Linked DNA regions of Homo sapiens: region 2 is linked to region 1. The links are contacts of gene promoters, found by promoter capture Hi-C in blood cells and fetal thymus (Javierre and others, 2016). All regions are on one chromosome and are shown on one strand. Each heading gives the region's core, a stretch centred on a gene start or on the middle of the fragment in contact. The rest is flanking DNA. Distances are from core to core; before and after follow the strand shown. Region 1 holds the start of GSG1L (GSG1 like). Region 2 has its middle 26 kb from the start of ZKSCAN2.

The links. The method cuts DNA at HindIII sites, captures the fragments that hold promoters and counts their contacts. A CHiCAGO score of 5 or more calls a contact.
Region 2: a contact is called between a fragment that was not itself captured here and the fragment with the promoter of GSG1L in region 1, in 1 of 17 cell types (naive CD4 T cells). The highest score is 5.2, in naive CD4 T cells.

Annotation. Positions count from the first base shown.
Region 1 is chr16:28,062,081-28,067,706 of GRCh38, reverse strand. GSG1L (GSG1 like) reads left to right here and starts at 3,993. Exons shown (of 7, transcript NM_001109763.2): 1 at 3,993-4,631. The coding sequence starts at 4,283. The HindIII fragment of the contact is 8,058 bases long and covers 1-5,626 here.
Region 2 is chr16:25,280,965-25,285,928 of GRCh38, reverse strand. No RefSeq gene overlaps it. Among named protein-coding and RNA genes, the nearest start is that of ZKSCAN2, 26 kb to the right of the region's middle. The HindIII fragment of the contact is 9,281 bases long and covers 1-4,964 here.

The sequences.
Region 1 (5,626 bases), core at 2,744-5,243:
TGTGGGGCTGGTCTCTCTGGAGGCAGGTGCAGGGTTGGGGTGGCTGAGGGACAGCATGGAGACAGGAGGCTGCAGTGAGGCCTTGGCCTGTGGCAGTGAGCCAGAGAGGAGGGAGCCAGGGACTTAGGCTCACATTTCTGGCCTCCTAAACAAATCCCATTACCTCTCCCTGCAACCGCTTCCCTCTACGCCCAAGGTAATTCCAACTATATCACTATTTGGGATAAAAATCCCTGTGGTGATCCAAGGGTTTTGCTGATGAGTTTGGATTCACTTCGAAGGTTGTGTAGACATCTGAAGTGGTCCCTCCAAGGGTGTAATCTCCATCCACTGTCTTCAGCTCATGGGAAAGGCCCAGTACAAACTCAGCCAGAATTTTGGATTTTCCCTGTGCCCCACAGGTCTGCTTCTGACTCAGCCAATAGCAACTCCATCCCTGCGGGAACTCCTGCCGAACACATCGGAGTCATACTTCCCCGTGTTCTATCGTGGGCAAATCCTGCTGGATCTGCCTTTATTTCACTTTCTTTTTTTTAGAGACAGGGTCTCACTCTGTCACCCGGGCTGGAGTGCTGTGGTTCGATCATAGCTCCTTGCAGCCTTGAACCTGCCCGGCTCAAGCGATCCTCCTGCCTCAGCCTCCCAAGTAGCTGAGACTACAGGCACACACCTCCACATCCAACTCATTTTTAATTTTCTTTTGTAGAGATAGGGTCTCACTCTGTTGCCCAGGCTGCTCTTGAACTCCTGGACTCAAGTGACCCTTCCTCCTCGGCTTCCCAAAGTGCTGAGATGAAAGGCGTGAGCCACCGCACCTGGCCTGGAGCTGCCTTTAAAGCTGACCCAGAACCTCCACCATGCCTGTCCCCACACTGGTCTGAGTCCCTGGCCTCATGCACTGGAATCCACACACCAGCCTGTCTGGTCTCTCTGCTTCCACCCTTCTTCCCATAGCAGCACGTGCGGTCCTGTTAGACACGAAACCAGACATGGGTCCCCTCTGCCCAGACCCTCCGCCGGCATGAATATCTTGCTCAGAGTGAATACCTGAGTCCTTGTGTGGTCTCTGCATTCCTGTGTGATCTGTCCCCTCCTCTAGCACCTCCCGCCCCCTTTTTTTCCTCCTCTGCCCTTTGCTCACTCAGCTGCAGCCACACTGTGCTCTCAGTTTTTCCCCAAAGGGCCAGACAGGCTCCTGCCTCGAGGCTTTTGCACTGGCCATCCCTCTGCCTGGAACTTCCATTCCCCCGGATGTCTTCATGGCTTGCCCCTACATCTCCTTCAAATCCTTGCTCCAATGTCCCCTTCTCAGTGAGGCCCTCCTTGAAGCCATCCCCACTTTGATCCCTCCCTGCTGAATTGCTCTCCCTGGCTTTCACCCCTGCATACTCTGCAGTGTTCTTTCTTTTTTTCTTTTTGAGACAAAGTCTCGCTCTCTCGCTCAGGCTGGAGTGCAGTGGCACGATCTCAGCTCACTGCAACCTCTGCCCCCGGGGTTCAAGGGATTCTCCTGCCTCAGCCTCCTGAGTAGCTGGAATTACAGTTGTGCGCCACCACACCAGGCTAATTTTTGTATTTTTAGTAGAGACAGGGTTTCGCCATGTTGGCCAGGCTGGTCTTGAACTCTTGACCTCAGGTGATCTGCCCGCCTCGGCCTCTCAAAGTTCTGAGTGATGTTCTTTCTTACGAACTTTGTTCACGTTCTCTTTTCTTCCCAGTGCTGAGCATTCAGTGGGTGGCTCAGTGAGTGGAGGAGCATCTTAGATGGAAATTCCAAATCCCTCTGTGCATCCTCAGGTGTTTCTTGAGAGAGTGTGGTCCCTGAGACATATCTCACCTGGGCTCTCCTGGCTTTGAACATGCAGGACAGGGTTCCCAGCTGTAGGTCACCGAGCCCTGCTCACATGCACACCAACCACAGCCTCGAGTCCAAAGAAGTACCCTGTTTAGCACACATCGAGGGGCTGGTTTTCATTGGTACACAGACACTCATGATGAATACTGCATGCCAGTTTAAAAGTGCTACTGGAGGCTGGGTGCGGTGGCTCATGCCTGTAATCCCAGCACTTTGGGAGGCCGAGGCGGGCAGATCACTTGAGGTCAGGAGTTCGAGACAAGCCTGACCAACACGGTGAAACCCCGTCTCTGCTAAAAATATGAAAAATAGCCAGGCGTGGTGGCAAGCGCCTGTAATACCAGCTACTCGGGAGGCTGAAGTATGAGAATCGCTTGAACCCAGAAGGCGGAGGTTGCAGTGAGCTGAGATTGCACCACTGCACTCCAGCCTGGGCGACAGAGTGAGACTCCATCTCAAAAAAAAAAAAAAAAAAAAGATGCTACTGGATTCTTTACAGCTGTTTGGCGATGATGTATTTTCTCTGTCAACCAATACTCTCAATGCCACCATTATCACATGGAGGTCCTCTCTTTCAAAATAGTTGAGAATCTCTTGCACAGTGCCAGAAAAGGGCTCTAAAAGCAAGTTTGGAGACCCTTGGCCATCCTTCGTGCCTGCTCTTACCAGGGACGTTGCCCACAACGTTTTCCTCTCACCTACCCCCCGGCAGATTAGCAGCAGCTGACAGTGGGTGCCGGCTCACCCACAGGAGTAAGGCAATTCATAATCGGTTAACCTTGAATTCTGCAAGGCCTGCCACTCGGCAAGCCGGGGGTTGTCGGAGCAGTTCTCAGCTTGGGCAGAATTCAAATGAGCTCTTATAATCAACATGCAATTAATTGTTGCACGCCCTGAGCATCTGGGCAGTAAGTGCTGTGCAGCGCGAAGGGAGTTCAGGGAGCGTGGTCATCTTAGAGCAGAGGTGGGGACGGGGTTGCACACAGTTTCCACGTTGCACAGGAGAGCCTGAAGAGGTTTGTCTGAGTTTGGTCAACTGATCTTGGTTCAGATGTCAGTAACAGTGAATTATTAATTGAGTCTACTGTGTGCCAAATGCTTTTTGCAGCCATGATCTCATTACAGCAGCCCACTGTGATATACCTTGAAGGGGGGGGGGTCCTCCCTTTTTTATAGTTATGGAAATTGAGGCTCAGAGAGGGTAAGTGACCTGTTCAAAGCCACACAGCTGGTCAAGCCCTAGATATGCTTGATCCCAAAGTCAGTATGTTTGGCCACCCTGCCCCCACCCGAATCTTGAAGATTCTACCCACATTCACATGGTGTGCATGTGAGCAGGGTTGGCAGCCCCTGTAGGGCACCACTGCCTGGTAGCTGCAATAACTTTGTGGCCGGCATGGGCCCTCCTAGGGTTCTGCTGTTTGGGATCTCAGGTGGGTGCAGTGGGCTGTCTGGGGTACCCTGTTGCCACTCTTCCTGCAGTTGCATGCCATGGTTGGGAGCCCAGATGACAGTTTCATCCTTGGAGGGGAGCTCTTCCCAGATGCTGGAGGTGACACCCAGGAGACAGAAAAACGTTTCAAACCCTATAACCCAATACTCCAGGAGGGGCGCCTCCTGACAGATTCTGCCACTCCAAGTCCAGCATGGGTTGTCTTATCCAGGGGGTCTTGCAGCTCCCTGGCTGTGGGAAGCCCTGCAGGCTCTGCTGTTTAGAACCTTTGGAAAAACTCCTTTCTCAGGGTCTGGTGCGGGGGTCCTTTTGGGGATCCCCTTCTGGGACAGGGTCCTGCTGGTCCGTGTCCCTCTTGGGGAGCCCCAGCAGGCTCTGCCCTTGTCTCCTGGGGCAGGGCCTCTCTGGGTCTCATGAGATGCCCGCTCCCGGCGGGTTTTGTTGCCCCACGTCCGCCGTGGGGATCTTTTCTCAGGAGCGCCTTGCCTGGGATTCTCCTTGCGTCTCAGACCCTCACCCTGGCTCGGATTTCTTTCGGGGGCGTCCCTCCACTCCCAGGCCCCCGCCCGCGCCCGGCGTGGCGGCCCCCTCTCCCCGTGCGGGCGGGCTCCGGAACAGTGTCGCCGGCCGCCTGCAGGTGTCTCCCCACGGAGGGGCGCGCGTCCCTGCGCCGTGGCCGCTGCCAGGCGCCAGCGGCTCCTAGCCGAGGTGCACTCGCGCTCCGGGCTCCGGGCGCGCCGTAGCCGCTCCTCCACCGCCGCCCGCCCCGCCAGCCCGCCCCGCACGCCCCCCGCGCCGCGCCCCCACCCCGGGGTTGGGGGGGGCATGGGCCCGCGCCGCGTCCGCCGCCGCCGATCTCAGGCACCCGAGCCCCGGGGCGCGGCGGGCAGCGGCCGCTGACGCGGGGCGCCAGCTGCCAACTTCGCGCGCGGAGCTCCCCGGCGGTGCAGTCCCGTCCCGGCGGCGCGGGCGGCATGAAGACTAGCCGCCGCGGCCGAGCGCTCCTGGCCGTGGCCCTGAACCTGCTGGCGCTGCTGTTCGCCACCACCGCTTTCCTCACCACGCACTGGTGCCAGGGCACGCAGCGGGTCCCCAAGCCGGGCTGCGGCCAGGGCGGGCGCGCCAACTGCCCCAACTCGGGCGCCAACGCCACGGCCAACGGCACCGCCGCCCCCGCCGCCGCCGCCGCCGCCGCCACCGCCTCGGGGAACGGCCCCCCTGGCGGCGCGCTCTACAGCTGGGAGACCGGCGACGACCGCTTCCTCTTCAGGAATTTCCACACCGGCATCTGGTACTCGTGCGAGGAGGAGCTCAGCGGGCTTGGTGAGTGCGCGCGGGCGGCGGCCAGCTCGGCTCCGGCTCCCCCGGGGCGGCGCGGCCATCGAGGCCCGAGCCCCGGACCCGTTCGCCCTCCTCCCGCCGCCTGGGCCCAGCTCCCAGCGCTCCGCCTGGCTAGGGGCGACGTTCCGGGGCAGGGGGCGCGCGCCGTTCCGGGGCCGGGGACCAGCATGGGGGGACGTGCGGGACGCCCCGCCGTGGAGAGGTGCAAGGCAGAGCTCCTACCCGCTGCGGACGCCCCGCGGCTTTGGGGACGCTCCCGCGCCCCGGGAAGGCGCCCACCCCCGCTGCCGGTCGGAGGGGCGCGCGCTGCTTTCCGCTCCTGAACTCATCTCCACGCTCGCCCCCTCCTCCTCTTCCTTTCGCGGGGCACTAGATGCCCCCACCCACCCCGGAACGCCCCTGGGGGTGGGGGTGATGCAGGGACTCCTGCTACCAGCCGCCCCTCCTGCCGCAGATCCACAGACCCGGGAGCCTTCCACCCCCATCGCCAACCCACGCCGAACCTCCCAGACGGGAGTGGGGAGTGGGGGAGTCCCGCGGGCTCCCGGAAAGCCGCACCCGCCCAGAGGCACCCCTATTGCCAGACGCCAGGGAGCCCTCTGTATCCTGGCCCCCTCCTGGGAGAGGCAGGCTAGGGAACTGGGGACAGCTGGGCAAACTCCGGGTCGAGGAGTCCAGGAGGGCTTAGCTTAGCACAAGGCTCCTATTAGGTTCGGTGGGGGACTGACTTTTCAGAAGGCAGATCAGACTGTCCCCTTTGCCTGGACCCCCTCCTCTACCCTCCAGAGGCAGCCTGGGCTGGAGTGCGTGTTTTGGAGGCAGACAGCCGGGCTGTGGCAGGGCCCAGGGGACAGCTGCCGGACAGCTGGTTGTGCCACACAGCAGGTAGAGCTGGCCCGAAAGACGTGGTATCTCTGAGCGGGTGTCCAGGCATGGACACCCTCCTGAGTGAATTGACCTCTTTCTCCAAGGTTAAA
Region 2 (4,964 bases), core at 378-2,877, 2.8 Mb after region 1:
GGAAAATGCAAATCAAGACCACAATGAGCTATCAATACTCATCTATTAGAACATTTGAAATAAAAAACAGTGACAGTATCAAATGCCAGCAAGGATGTGGAGAAACTAGATTTTTTGTATATTTCTGGAGTGTAAAAATGGTATAGCCACCATGGAAAAATAGATTGCCACTTTCTTTAAAAAAAAAAAAAAAATACACTTACTATATGACCCAGCAATTGTACCCACCCCTGGGCATTTACCCCAAAGAAATGAAAACCTATGCCCACACAAAAACTGATCTGTGATTGTTCGTAGCAACTTTATTTGTAGTAGCCATCTTTACATCTATGAGCATATTTATCTCCCACTTGTAAGTGAGAATATGTAGTCTTTGGTCTTCTGTTCTTGCATTAATTTGCTTAGGATAATGGCCTCCAGCTGTACCCATGTTGCTGCAAAGGATGTGATTTTGTTTGTTTGTATGGCTGCACAGTATTCCATGGTGTATACATCTTCTTCATTCAGTCCACCACTGATGGGCACCTACACTGATTCCATGACTTTGCTGTTGTGAATAGTGCTGTGATGAACCCATGCGTGCATGTGTCTTTTTGATAGAACAATTTATTTTCCTTTGGGTATATACCCAGTAATGAGATTGCTGGGTCGAATGGTAGTTCTGTTTTAAGTTCTTTGAGAAATCTCCAAACTGCTTTCCATGGTGGCTAAACTAACTTACATTTCCACCAAAAGTGTACAAGCATTCCCTTTTCTCCACAGCCTCACCAACATCTATTATCTTTTCACTTTTAACAAAAGCCATTCTGACGGGTGTGAGCTATTAATTGGTCTCACTGTGGTCTTGATTTGTATTTCTCTGATGATTGGCAATGTTGAGCATTTTTTTACGTCTGTTGGCTGCTTGTATGTCTGTTTTGTTTTGTTTTAGATAGAGTTTCACTCTTGTTGCCCAGGCTGGAGTGCAATGGTGTGATCTTGGCTCACTGCAACCTCCGACTCCCAGATTCAAGCGATTCTCCTGCCTCAGCCTCCTGAGTAGCTAGGATTACAGGCGCCTGCCACCATACCTGGCTAATTTTTTGTATTTTTAGTGGAGACGGGGTTTCACAACGTTGGCCAGGCTGGTCTCAAACTCCTGACTTCAGGTGATCTACCCACCTCTTTTGAGAAGTGTCTGTTCATGTCTTTTGCCCACTTTTTAATAGGGTCATTTGTTTTTTTGCTGGTTGAATTGTTTAAGTTTCATATTACACTTCTTTTGGATGCATAGTTTGTTAATATTTTCTGCTGTTCTCCAGGTTGTCTGTTTACTCTGTTGATAGTTTCTTTTCCTGTGCAGAAGCTCTTTCATTTAATTAGGTCCCATTTGTCAATTTTTGTTTTTGTTGCAAATTTTTTGAGGACTTAGTCATAAATTATTTCCCAAGACCAACATCGAAAATGGTGTTTCCTAGATTTTCTTCTAGAATTTTTAGTTTTAGGTCTTACATGTAAGTCTTTAACCCATCTTGAGTTAATTTTTGTATGTGGTGATAGAGGTCCAGTTTTATTCTTCTGCATATGGCTAGCCAGTTATCCCAACACCATTTATTGAATAAAGGGTCCTTTCTCGATTGCTTATTTTTGTCAACGATCAGTTGGTTGTAAACGTGTGGCTTTATTTCTGGGTTCTATATTCTGTTCCATTGGTCCATGTTTCTATTTTCATACCACTTCCATGCTGTTTTTGTTACCGTAGCCTTAGAGTATAGTTTTAGGTCAGGTACTATGATGCCTCCAGCTTTGTTCTGTTTTGCTGAGGATTGCTTTGGCTATTGGGGCTTTTTTTTTTTTTTTTTTGGTTCCATATGAGCTGTAGAATAGTTTCTTCTAGTTCTGTGAAGAATGGCTTTGATAGTTTGATAGAAATAACATTGAATCCATAGACTGTTTTGGGCAGTATGGCCATTTTAACAATATTGATTCTTCTAGTCCATAAGCATGGAATATTTTTCCATTTGTGTGTCATTTATGGTTTCTTTCAGCAGTATTTTGTAGTTCACCTTCTAGAGATCTTTCTCCTCCTTGGTTAGAGGTATTCCCAGATAGATATTTTGTTTTTGGTGTGGCTACTGTAAATGGGGTTGCATTCTTGATTTGGATCTCAGCTTGATCATTATTGATGTGTAGAAATGCTACTGATGTTTGCACATTGATTTTTGTATCCTGAAACTTTACTGAGGTCATTTATCCATTCTAGGAGCCTTTTGGTAGAGACTTTAGGATTTTCTAGATATAGAATTATATCATCAGGGAAGAGACATAATTTGACATATTCTTTCCCTGTTTGGATGACTTTTTTTTTTCTCTTGCCTGATTGCTCTGGTTAGGATTTCCAGTACTATTGTTATTGGAAAGTGGTCCCAATCCATATCCCAAGAGAAGGTTTTTGGATCTTGCGCAAGAAGGAACTCAGGGCAAGTGCATAAAGTGAAAGCAAGTTTAATAGGAAAGTGAAAGAATAAAAGAATGGCTACTCCATAGACAGAGCAGCCCTGGAGGCTGCTGGTTGTCCATTTTTATGGTTATTTCTTGATGATATGCTAAACGAGGGGTGGATTATTCATGCCTCCCCTTTTTAGACCATATAGGGTAACTTTCTCACATTGCCATAGAGTTTGTAAAATGTCATGGCGCTGTTGGGAGTGTAGCAGTGAGGACAACCAGAGGTCACCCTCGTGGGCATCTTGGTTTCGGTGGATTTTAGCTGACTTCTTTGCTGCAAATTGTGTTATCAGCAAGGTCTTTATGATCTGTACTTTGTGCCAACCTCCTACCTCATCCTGTGACTTAAATGCGTTAACTGTCTGGGAATGCAGCCCAGTTGGACTCAGCCTCATTCTACACAGCTCCTATTTAAGATGGAGTTACTCTGGTTCAAATACCTCTGACACTATGTTGAATCGGAGTGGTGAGAGTGTTGGCCCATAAATTTGTACAAATAAATGTTCACACTGCTCTGTGAAAAATAATAATAATAATAATTTGCACCCACCAAAAAAGTGCTGCTGCCTAAGCCTTAACAGCAAATCAACTCTTAATAAGCTAGAATCTCTGCGCATGGAACTCATGCATCAGATCCTCTAAGAAACGCTTACATGTGGAGATCGGGGGGAAAAGGAGGATCAAGCAAAAGAAGATTGGAAAGAAGTGGACCATGATAGAGGAAGGAAACCAGGATATGTGGCTCCTGGAAGCTGAGAGGGGGCTGTTTCAAAAGGGAGATAAGATACTCCTGCACTAGGATTTTGTGAGGACTGAAAGAATGCATGCCTATGGAAGCACTTTGTAAGCTGTTAATTGATGAACAAATACTACATGAAGTATTACTATCATCTTAAGGAAAAAAAATCATTCCCCCCTAGTCCAACATCTCTGTGCTTAGAGAAAGAACTTAGAAAAGCGCTGGGAGGGGTGTCCATCCCCAGCACTTATACTTATGAGAATTAACCAAAAATCTTTACAGTTATGAGGCTTAAACAAATTAATGTCCATTATGCTTAACTCAGTGCCTAGTACATCATCATCATCACCATGTAATAATAATAATGATGATAGCTAACACTTACATAGTGCTTCCTATGTGTTAGGCAATGTTCTAAGTGCTTTATATCTATTCAGGTAGCATTCAAGAATGATGAGCTATTGTTGTTTCTTTTGTTATTATTACTAATTCCAAATGGTTTGGTTTCCTTAGTGGGCATTAAGGGAGGGTATAGATGCTGGTTTGGCATTCCAGAGCCACTACTGTTCCGATGTGAGGTTAATGATGTCCCATGAGACCTCTCTGGAAGTAGCAGAGAAAGTGGGGAGGGGGCTTCCCTAGAACAGTCTACGGGTCTCCAGAACTGTGTGTCAGTTCTAGGGCCACCTGGCAGACAGCAGAACCGTCCTATGGGAGGGCTGTGCCCCACTGTGATAGCTGAATTCCTTCATGGAGGCTGTGCTATAGATCCGTTCAGAGCTATATGTGAAGGCATCTGGACATGGTGAGAACTTTATCTGGGCTCTTCAACTCAACTGTTATTTACTGACCACTCATAGGCACCAGTGTATTTAAGCCTGTCATTGACTTTGAGAAGTAGAGATGGTTATCACCATTCTCCAGGTGAGGAAGCTGAGGTTTACAGAGGTTAAATAACTTGCCCAAATTCACACAGCCAGTTAGCATCAGAGCCAGGACTGAAACTGGAATACCCTAAATTCAAGTTCTGACTTCGTCTCCCATGCATGCCACTTTTTTTTTTTTTACCAAGTTTTGAGGAGGTAGGGCTATGGCCAAATTTTAAAAACCAAAACCAAGACCTAGAAAGACTTCACCTTCAATATGCTAGTAGGGGAAGGGAAATAGGCAAAGGACATAGGAAATTTGCAGAAGAGGCACACAAACGCCAAAAAAAAAAAGTGAATAAATGCAAATATAACACACATTTAAAAATATACACACATCATTTTAAGCCCATCAGATTCATTTTTTAAATGTATAAAAGTCAGAAAATAACAAGCCTTGAAAAGGACGTGGGTAACACAACCCCAAGACACTACTGTAGATTTGTGCAATGACCCCAGAGAGCAAGGTAATTGTATCTTAAAATGTTCAAGAACTGCTCACTCCTGAATCGTTTGAACGCAAGAGGTGGAGGTTGCAGTGAGCCGAGATCACACCACTGCACTCCAGCCTGGGCCACAGAGCAAGACTCCGTCTCAAAAAAAAAAAACCCTCACTCCCTACAACCCAGCAATTCCACTCTAAGAAAAGTCCACAGAGAAACTTCTCTCACTTGTGCGCAAGGAGAAATATACAAGGATATTTCCAAAGGTAACGGGAAACAGGAAACTATTTAAATGTCCAATATTAGAAAATGGATACATAAAATGAGGTAAATTCCTACCACATACTCTCTAGCAGTTAAAGTGAATAG